Linked DNA regions of Homo sapiens: all the other regions are linked to region 2. The links are contacts of gene promoters, found by promoter capture Hi-C in blood cells and fetal thymus (Javierre and others, 2016). All regions are on one chromosome and are shown on one strand. Each heading gives the region's core, a stretch centred on a gene start or on the middle of the fragment in contact. The rest is flanking DNA. Distances are from core to core; before and after follow the strand shown.

Region 1 (3,467 bases), core at 302-2,801, 690 kb before region 2:
CAGGTTGCTGGAAGAACCAGGAATTAAATTTACATCAGTTTGCTTTAAGTCTACCTCACGTTTACTCTGCCTTGCTGACATCCTGCTCCTTGATTCTCTGAATCAATCCTACTATTCAAGAAAAAAAGTTTAAAAAGTAGGTTAGTTTAAAAGGCAGAAGTAGATGATTTCTGACAACTGACAACAGAACAAGTAAATACGGGTGTGCTGATGTGGTAGGCCACACGTTTGGTATTGTAAGGTCCATCTTTTTTTTTTTTTTTTTTCTTTTTCAGCATCCCTTCCTTTTGGGAAATGCTTCTTAACCCTCTACTTGATTACAATAGAACCAGTAGGAACTTCAATCCTGTGGCTTTGTCTTCAATTCATGAATGTGTGCGTGACTCAGACTGACCAAGTAGAGAAACTCCTCCTTGCAGGAAGGGATTGGCTTAAGGAGGGCACGGAGCTTGCATGGAGAGCCTCATACAGTGCTTTGTGTGGCTCAGGGAGCAGTGGGGGCAGAGGTCAATATTAATATTGGTATTAATATTGGCTGTTGGGACTATGAACTCTCAGTACCATGTGTAACCATTTTCTTGCTAGTATTAATTGGGTGCACAGAAAAAATGATAACATCATTTTTTTGCTACCTGCTGCCCTCTCTGATCCACTGACTCTCACTTTCCTGTCCTGTGATAATCTCTTAGGAAAATCCTATGACTACCAAGTCACTTTCAACATCAAAAATGTCTCATTTCAGGTATTGAAAAATCTAGTGTGGTCCAAGTCAAAACTTTGATCTCAGATCCTCATTAGAGTTTCTTCCCTCCACCAAGGTCAGGTCTGAGCTGTAGTTCACGATCATGTGACCATGAAGAGGTGGGCCCTCCCATCTCACTGTACTGCTTACCAGTTTTCCTTCATTTTCTTCCAGGGTATGGCCCAAGGAGAAGAGGATGAGGGGGGAGGAGAGGGAGGGTGTCACCTATTTGGTGCTGTCTCAATCTGACTTCAGTATTTTCTGTCGTGGCAGGTGTTCAAGTGTAGGTTTTAGGGAGTAGAGGGGCACTCGTGGGTTTATCAGAGACCCCCCCCCGCCAACAAGGGTGTTCACCTGGCTGTCATTCAAGTGTGTTCCTCCTCCTTGCCTTTGTTCTTTTGGTTCCAGTACCTCTCTCAGGACTTTCCAAGGGGCTAATAATTTCTGAATAGCTTTAATTAAAATAAAATTTATACTTCTGGGTTAAAGATTCTCCTCACCATTTTCAAATTTCTACCCCACTTAATGCTATTTGACAGAATTTAAAATCACTCTTCTGTTGAAATATGTAGAAGAGGTAGGTTTTAGGGAATGCTGTAATTTTTTTGAGTTGCCGTATGTGACACAACTGATTAGATCATGATGTTATTTTATAGCTGATGGTACAAAACATGAATTCTGTTATTTTTTTCGTGTGTGTGTGTGTGTGTGTGTGTGTGTGTGTGTGTTGTCCTATCAGTTCAGACTCAGAGAACCTTGACATCAAAGTAGGTGGTTTTTATCCCATGTACAGCCATTATAATCCTTTTATAGCATGATTTAATTGCATGGAATACTTTAAATGGTGGGTGAAATCACTGTTATGATTTTCATTATTATACAGAAAGTCTGTCAAGGAGTAGTTCTCCTATAGCAGATGATGTGCGTCCTGTTTCTAGTGCTGGAGTCATAAAAGACCCTCTAGTCCAACTGTTCACCTTATGTTCAAATTTCATTTCTGGGCTTAAATATTATTTTTCTTAAAGTGGACCCACATTAAAATAACAAAACGGGTTAAGCAGGATAATCCAATAACCAGGTTGTTACCTGAAATTAAAAGTCTGGCAATTTTTTCCACTAAGATAACTGATTATTGGGCAGGCTATTTTTGAGTCACTGTGACTCAGCCTGACTGACTCTTTTTACTCCTGGACTCTGTTGACTGCCCTCCTAATGGATGCCAGTGACTTGCCTTTGGCATGTCACCTGCGCCAGCATGAGCTGCCATTCAAATGGTTCTGTGCTCTGACAAGCTGCACTCCGTGAATTGCCAGCTGGATAATTCACAAGGTGCTGCCGTGTGCGAGCCAATACCAGCACCTGGAGGCCTTTATAGATGCTGCCACTAAATGCATGAAGAAATCTCAAGTAAAAGTTTCACTTTTTTTATTTTAATGCATGTATATAAACCTGCAACATTAACTACCTCTTTGGTTTGAAACTGCAGATGTAACCAATATTTCTTTGCCTAAATTATGCCCTATATGCTTTGGGGGAAGGGAGACCCAGTCATTAAAGATAAAACATCAAGTCATATAAAATGTCATGTAACAGTAAACTGCAGGCTTCACTGCAATTGCTTGGAACATGGGATGTTATGCCTTCCTAATTGTGTTAAACCCAGAGGCTTGGCGTGAGTGTATCAGGAATCAGGGGTGCAATATCCATGATTATAACTTGAAGATGGGACAAATCCTGACTTGGAAACTATTCAGCAATCTGGTTGGTTCCATTCAGTTCAAAGCAGTTCAACTCAGTTCAGTTCAATTCACCTTATTCATTTTCATAAATGTTTCGGACACACCGTATGTACTGGGCACTGAGAGGATATGGGGCAAAAAAAGTTGAAACCTGCCTCTGCTAATGCAGTGCTGGTGCTCTGATTCTACTCCTCTCCATTCGTCTCCACCCTGCTCTGCACACTGGAAGCCTGGTTTATGTGGACCCATCACTGTGTTCTTTTGCTGTTGAATTTGGTTTGGTTCAGGCCATGGATGCCACCAATAGGAGATGCCAGTGGGTAAGAGAGAGAACTTGGAGTATTTATTCCCCAACTCCCTCCTGAGCTGCAGGCTTATGTCTGGTTTGCATCTGGCCAGTTATCCTTCTCCATCCAGTTCTGTCTCTGGGTAGATCCTGACTACCCACGGCTCCCTTCTCTTCCCCTTTACACCCAAGGTGTGGTGAGTGCTCCCTGGTGTCCCTGTCCCCAGGATGCTGCCCCGGCCTTGTTGCCTTCCATAAGCTCTGCTCACTCTTTTGAAAATACTCTTTTTTTAGTGTAATTCTTTCAGATTATTCAGTTTGCCTGTACCCATCAGTGCCTTGCAGAGGAGCCCAAGAGATACCCAGAAGTAAGCTTCCATCTGAATTAATTCATTTATAGTTAAGTGCTTATTATGGGTCAAGTGACTATGTGCTAGGTCCTGGGGGTATAAACCTCTAACTATGAAAGATACAATCCAGCTTTCAGTGAAAGCATTGCCTATTAGAGTGCACGGAAATTAATGATTGCAAAATAGCAGTGAGTGCAGGGCAGCTGATGTTACGGGACATGACAGCTTGCCTTGTGTTCGGATGGGGGCCCTGTAAGTGTAGCTTGAATCGAAATAGAAAGCAGGATGGGGGCATGAATTAGGTAAGGATATGACCATGCTGGGGTGGTGGGGAGTGCGGTGGGAAGAAG
Region 2 (3,547 bases), core at 974-3,473:
CCAGTTGGGGGAAGCCCTTGGTGGCCAATCGGGGCTTCCCTATCTATTGCGTCACACCTCCCCCGTGTGTGACGTCAAAGGCAATCCCAGCCCAGACACGTGGGTTGGAGCAGCGTCGCGTTTCTGGGCAATTGCTCCTGAGACCCAACAGGCAGCAACGGTCCCAAGGGTGAGGGAGTGGGCAGGGAGAGGCTGATGGGGCTTCTACACGTTCCCTCCCGTAGCTGGGCTGCTGCAGCTCGTTCGCCCCAGAGGCGCGCGGTGTCCTTGAGTCCAAGTATTCAGCGCGGACGTTTGGGGGACGGAGGGAGAGGCGCTAGGGGAACTGGCACCTAAGACTGTGTAATAGGACACAGGTCTTGCAAGTCCTCCTCCCCAGGCACCGCCCCTGTGCTCCCAGCGCCTCTTTGCAGCTTTAATTATCCTTTCAGCGCCGTTCCCCCGCGGCTGCGTTTCCGTGGTCAGAGGAAAAAGGCTCTTTCGCCTCCCGGTTCTCACCCTCATACAGACCCTCCTTTCAGACCCGCCCTCCTGTTCACAGGGACCCATTTCGGAGCCCTGGCTCACGCTGGGCGGGAACTGCCGTGACGAATTCCCCCCAAGGTGTTGATTATCCATCCCAACCCAGCCTCTGGCTTCCCTCCCACCTCCACCCCAGCTCCCACAGGCCCCTCGCCCCGTTCATCGGCTGGGCGCTCGAGACGGCGCCCCCAGATCTCCCACCGGGCAGTGTCCCCAGCTGCAGCTGAGGAGAGAAGCGCCGGCGTGCGCGGTGCCACGTCGGAATTGGCTCTGGGGACGCCGCAGCTGCCGAAGCGCAGCGCGCGGTCCCCACGCACGCCCTGCCTCCGGGCGGCCGGCGGGCTGGCCCGGCGAGGAGAGGAGGGATGCGCGCCCTCCTCCCGCTCCTATCTGCGGGTGCCACCGCCTGCGTCAGGGACCCCTGGCCCGAGTAAGCCCAGACTGACGAGCCTGACACTTTAATGGGGTGCGGGAAGTGCAAAGGAGGGGAGGCCCGGGAAAGGGGGGAGTGGCCGAGAGGGGATGGTAGCTGCGAGGAGGTAGAGAAGGACCCTCCTTCTCCAGGGTCCCAGCTTGTCGGAGCTGGAAGCCCAGATTGCTTAACCCTTTGCATTCCCAGCAAGAAGCGACTTTTTCACTTAGAAGTAAAACGCGCTGGGCTATTCCAGTTTTTCTCCCCACAGTGTGTGTGTGTGTGTGTGTGTGTGGGAAAAAAAGAAGGGAAGGGGTGGGGCGGCTGTGCAGAATGCATTTTCCTTACATTGGGAATTCTTGTTTCCTAACTCTGGAGCCCCTCTGCTGCTCCGGAAGATGCAAAATGGAAAAGTACATCTGAGGACGTGCAGCCTTTCCCAGGCAGAGAGGCTACCTGTGTCCCCAGAAAGGCAGCGGATTTCTGGCGAGAGCCGCAGAAATGGGAAAAGAGGGCTATGTTGCTAAGCCTGACAGTGACCTGAAATATTCCCTGATCTTCAGTCTGTTGGAAATTTTTAAACTTCCAACTTTTCTATCGAAACTGGCTTAAAAATTTTAAAACAATTATAAGGATGTCTTCCTTCTCCCTGGCCTGTTGGAGGACCTTCATCCTTCACCAAAACGCGCCAGTGTAACGTACCTTGTTCAGCTCTTGGTCATAAAGTCGTCCTCAGCCTGTCTGTGTGGTCCCGGAGGGTCGGTGGCGGGCAGTTTCCAAAATTGAGGTAATAAGAGATCAGATGAATTTGAGACGACCGGCCAAAAAAAATAAGAAATTTAAAAACAACATTTAAAAAGGATAGGGGAGTCTTAAATGTTTGATTCTTCCCCACTTTAAAAAATAATTTCACTAATATTCTCTTTATGTTTCCGTTGCACTTCAGTCTAATTCTTAAAAAAATTATGCTTTAAAAATAAATTAACTTTTCTTTTTTCTTTTCTTTTCTTTTTTTTTTTTTTTTTTTTTTGGGCTTCAGTCTTTCTGCCCCCGATAACAGAAAATCTCTTTTTCGTCTTAAAAAAAAAAAAAAAAAAAAAAAAAGCCTGTGGAAGACTCAGCAGAACCCAGGAAGCGCAGAATTGGGAGAAAAGTCTTTGGCTGGGGCTGTTTCAAGTCTCTGGTTCAATGGGCTGCTCGAAGCCAGGACTGGGTAATTCTTTCCAGACGTCTTGACTTCTCCTTCCCCGCCGTTGTTGCCCTTCTGCCTCCTCCAACTTAAGGGGGTCTTAACAAGTGAGCTGGTGGGTGTTTTAATAGGGCGGCGGAGGGAGTGGGGGGGTGAGGGAAGTGGAGAGGGAGGTGTGGACTGGGGAACCCTGAGGGGAGGGAACTGGGAGCGCGGGCGGGCGGGCGAGCGGGAGGCGGGGAGGGGGAGAGGGAGAGAGAGAAATTGGCCATTCAAAGCCTTCTCTGAGCTACAGGCCGGTTCTAAACTCCAATGAATTCAATTAACTTGATTGCTAACGTGTGCAGAGAAATGCAAGACACATAGGGGGCCACCACCTGATTCCTTACTTTCCTCTGGCGGCGGAGGTGGGAGCCCTCGCCTCTTGGATTTCCCTGAACTCCCGCGTTACAAGTTCCCTCCAAGCGATAAACTCCCTGTGGCGCTGAAGTAATTTGTTTTAAAGCCAAATGGTGCCCTTCAGCTAAGTAACCGACCCAAGGAGGAACAGTTGGGAGGGGTGTGTGCACGTGTGTGTGTGTGTGTGTAAGTGTGTGCGTGTGTGTGTGTACCTGGAGCCTTCGACAGCCGGCTGGGACTCTAAAAAGATCGCGCTGGTCCACCACTTGTTAACCCTTTCTTCCCGCCAACTCAAAAGTTTCTGAGCTGACGTCAAGTGTCAAAGCCTTTCTCATAAAGAGGTTTCTGCCGTGGGTGGGCGGAAAACATAGAAAAGTAATTATATGTATATTTTTGCTCAATCTGGTCCCCTAACGTAAACATACTCAAACAGCGCGCATTAAAAATAAAATAATAAAAATTGTTTTCTGGAGGACTTATATTTAGCCATCTTGAAGGAAATGGCTTAACTGGCTTTTGCTTTTTGCAAGCCTTCTGCAAAGTTGACGAGGACAAATATGTCTTGCTTGGAGATGGCCTTTCCTCGTCGTTTTCACAATGCCCCAAGGCTGGGTAGAGTTCGTTTTTTGGTTACTCCTCCCCCCACCACTCCGCCTCCTTTCTTTCTCTTGGACCTTGCCAACAAGCCTGCTGATGACTGAAAATGGACAGTAGGTGGCACTGTTGAGGAAAAAATGAGAGTGACTTTACAAATTAACCAACTTGGTCTTGGGAGATTGCGCTGAAATTGTTATAGGGTAAAACAGATTTTTCTTTCTTTCTTTTTTCCTTCTTCCCCTTCCAAGGATCTTCTGAGGGGTGGACTTCTTTGGAACTCGACAGGACCTTGAAGACTGGGTTCTTAGTCCTTATCACATATATGGGCTATAATGAATAAGTCTAAACAGAAAAGTCGAATAAACTGGAAATGATGCTTTCATCACGTCGCACAAGGTGTAGTGTTGGGGGATGTGATTAGGGGTCAA
Region 3 (3,708 bases), core at 690-3,189, 660 kb before region 2:
GCTTTCTCATAGGAAGTTACATTTAACAGCATTTTGAAGGATGTGTAGGAGATTGTCAGATGGGTAGGGTTGGGAGGAGAATAATAACAACAAAAAACCCCAGCTTGCACAAAGAATCACGAAATGAATGGAGATAATGTCACAGCAGCAGAAGTATAGGGTGTGAAAAGAGATGTGAGGCACTTGGAAAGGTAGGTCTAGAGAGTGACAGGCCTTATTGGCCATTTAAGAAGTTTGGATTTTCTTTTAAAGGTAGTGGAGATGAGAGGAGAGAGGAGAGAAGGAAACAGAGGGACTAGGTGAGAAGATGCCACACGCAACTGAATGGCTAAAAATCCAGATTGCAAGAACTACCTGCAGTAGGAAGGTTTTGAGACAGTGGGCTAAACTCAGAATCTGTCTTGAAACAGTGACTTTATGGGTTGAAGGGAAGTAAAGAACCATAGTTGACTCTGAGGTTACCAATTTGTAAAATTGGGTGGGTAATGACGGCAAATTGTGAAGAGGGTAATAAAAGGAACAGAAAGGTTTTGGGCAAAAATGATTGCATATTAAGATGTGTCACCAATAAGGTGATGCTTAAGTGGTAACTATAATTATTTAGCTATGAATTATTGAGAAGGATCAGGATGAGATCCAGAAGGAAGGAAGCAGGAATGTAGCTGCTTTCTCCTTTTAAATTTAGTATGCATTCGAAATTTAAAAGGAAACAAAATACTTGAGTGTTCTTCCAAATGGTTTAGGCAAGGTCACATAAGGAGGAACGAGGAAAGGAATTTAGAGCAGTTTTGTGCAGCGGATGAGGGTTTGAGAAACTTTAATTTAAACACTGTTAATCTGTAAGTTAATCACCTCTCTGAAATACATCCCAGGACTATTGTGAGGGTTAAGAGACATCTCAAAGGAATATATGTCGGACAACATAGGTTATGCTCCACTGTGGTTAAAAAACAAAAGCATGGCCCAGTGCAGTGGCTCACAGGTGTAATCTCAGCACTTCGGGAGGCCAAGATGGGAGGATTGCTTGAGGCCAGGAGTTCAAGACCAGCATGGGCAACAGAGCAAGACCTGGTCTCTACAAAAAATAAGAAAATTAGCTTGGCGTGGTGTCATATGCCTGTAGTCCTAGCTGCTCGGGAGGCTGAGGCTGGAGGACTGCTTGAGCCCAGGAGTTTGAGGTTACAGTGAGCTATGATCATGCCACTGCACTCCAGCCTGGGTGACAGAGATCAGACACTATCTCTAAAACATAAAATAGGACAGGTGCAGTGGCTCACACCTGTAATCCCAGCACTTTGGGAAGCCAAGGCAGATGGATCACTGAGTTCAGGAGTTTGAGACCAGCCTGACCAACATGGTGAAACCCTATCTCTACTAAAAATACAAAAATTAGCTAGGTGTGGTGGCAGGCATCTGTAATCCCAGCTACTTGGGAGGTTGAGGCAGGAAAATTACTTGAACCCAGGAAGCAGAGGTTACAGTGAGCCAAGACTGCGCCATTGCACTCCAGCCTGGGTGACAGAGTAAAACTCTACCTCAAAAATAAATAAATAAATAACATAAAATATAATTAAATTTTTTAAAAAGCAAAACATAAAACTTCCCAATGCATCAGTTTAAGACAATAGACATTTTCCATTTTAATTCACTGAATAACTTTATGAAAAAGATCCATCTTCATCATTTGATAGATGGGGAAATGGATTTGTCCAAGAGCACACAAGAGGAAGAGCTCTGAAATCTTTCAGACTCTAAAGGCTGCATGCTGTCTTTCCATTCCATGTTGGACAAATGCTTTCCATAGAGAGGGCATGCCCAGATAGAGGACTAAGCGTTCCTGGCCAGAATGGAGCTCTGAAAATGAAATGTCTGCATGACTTTCCACCTATTTCCTTACTACAAAGTTCTTCCTTGGGCAGACAGGGAAGAGAGAATATATTTCCCACATCCTCAGTTTTATTGAGGGCAGGGTAAGCTAGTGTTTAATAACGTAGTCCCTGGAGTTGACATGGTAAATTGACATATTTGGGTTTAAATCTTGACTCTAGCCACTTGTCAGCAGTGTAAACCTTGACAAGAGACTAAACATTTCTGGCCCTTCGTTTTCTTACCTCTAAAATAGGGATAATAATGGTATGTATTTCAAATGTTTATTGTGAAGATTAAATTAAATAATGCACTTAAAGCACATTGTTTTATGTTTAGTAGTCTATGCATATTTCCTATTTTATGAGTGTTTTAGGAACTCACCTCTTGCTTTTCATTTCTGTCCGTGATGGTACCCACAAACCATCACTCAGAGAATGCTCAATTGAAAAATGAAAAAAGGTAGCCTTGTGCATATGGAGAATGGGAATGCTCTGTGTGGATGGTTGCATTCCAGTCATATTTCCAAGTTTACCCTAAAGCCACAGATTTGGTTGTATGGAATTCAGAAGTTCTAATTAGAAATATGAAGAAGGATATGGACTTCCTTGTATATTTTTAAATTGATATACAAACTACATTTGGTAAAGTGAACAAACCTTAAGTTTAAAACTTAATGAACTTTACAGAGTGAACACATTTGTGTAACCCCATCCAGATAAAAATAGAGAACACTGTCAATAGTACAGAATCATCCCTGCCTCCTTCAGCCCTTCCTACCTGTGCCAAAGATAACCATATCCTGGCTTCTGTTACCCTAGGCTAGTTTTGTCTTTCTGAATTTTACATGAAAGGAATCATAGAATTTGTGTTTTTTGCTCAACATCATGTTTTTGAAATTCATTTATACCATTGCATAGAGCAGTTGTTTCTTCCTTTTATTGCAGTATTGTATCCCATTGTGTGAATATATTACCACAATGTTATTTTCCACTGTTTATGGACTTTTGGGTCAATTCTCATTTTTGGTTATTCACCATAATACTGCTTTAAGCATTCTTGAATATCTCTTTTGCACAAATCTGTACACTTATGCATTTCTTTTGGGAATGTATCAGGAGAGGAATTGCTGGGTCATTGGATACATATCTATTCAGTTTTAGTAGAAAGCATCTAATAGTTTCTGAAGTAGTTGTACCAATTTACTGGACCACCAGCAAAATAAGAGGACTCTAGTTCTCTACATACTCTCTAACACTGATCCATTCAATTGTTATTTTTAAAATTTTAGTCATTTTAATGGATATATAAATATTTCATCACTGTGGTTTTAATGAGCAGTTTTCCAATACCTCATCGCGTTGATCAACTTTTCTATGCTTATTTTTAGCTAAGTATCCTTCTTTTGTGAACTAAGTCTTTCACCTACTTGAAAAAATTGTATTGTCCTTTATTTTTGATGTAGATTTAAAAAAATTTAAATACAAGTTCTTTGTCAGATTTATTTATTATAAACGTATTCTCACAGCTTTTTCACTCCCTCAGTGATATCTTTGGATCTTAACTTTAGTAAAGTTCAGTTTATCACTATTTCCCTTTATGGTAGTTTTCCTTTGTCCTGTTTTATATGCTGGATAGTAAGAACTCATGAGACACATCTGTGGCTACTGATTGGTGATAGAAATAAAAGGGAAGGGATGAAAGTGTTTGATTAAACTGGAGAAAGGGAAGCCATATTTTTGAGGCCACCAGGGGAGAACATCACAAGGGTTAGAGGGGTCAGGACTTGGGGTTAAAGAGTTTCCATTAGAACACGAAAACATCGAAGAGACTGTAGAGGTC

Evidence for each region. The method cuts DNA at HindIII sites, captures the fragments that hold promoters and counts their contacts. A CHiCAGO score of 5 or more calls a contact.
Region 1: a fragment that was not itself captured here is called in contact with the fragment with the promoter of HAS2 in region 2 in 2 of 17 cell types (M0 macrophages and M1 macrophages); the score reaches 6.6 in M0 macrophages.
Region 3: a fragment that was not itself captured here is called in contact with the fragment with the promoter of HAS2 in region 2 in 1 of 17 cell types (M0 macrophages); the score reaches 5.1 in M0 macrophages.

The regions. Positions count from the first base shown.
Region 1 is chr8:120,952,359-120,955,825 of GRCh38, forward strand. No RefSeq gene overlaps it. Among named protein-coding and RNA genes, the nearest start is that of SNTB1, 140 kb to the left of the region's middle. The HindIII fragment of the contact is 3,174 bases long and covers 1-3,138 here.
Region 2 is chr8:121,639,217-121,642,763 of GRCh38, forward strand. HAS2 (hyaluronan synthase 2) reads right to left here and starts at 2,224. Exons shown (of 4, transcript NM_005328.3): 1 at 1,637-2,224. It also overlaps HAS2-AS1. RefSeq lists enhancers at 1-180, 181-681, 2,883-3,506. The HindIII fragment of the contact is 9,649 bases long and covers 1-3,547 here.
Region 3 is chr8:120,977,966-120,981,673 of GRCh38, forward strand. No RefSeq gene overlaps it. Among named protein-coding and RNA genes, the nearest start is that of SNTB1, 170 kb to the left of the region's middle. The HindIII fragment of the contact is 3,881 bases long and covers 1-3,708 here.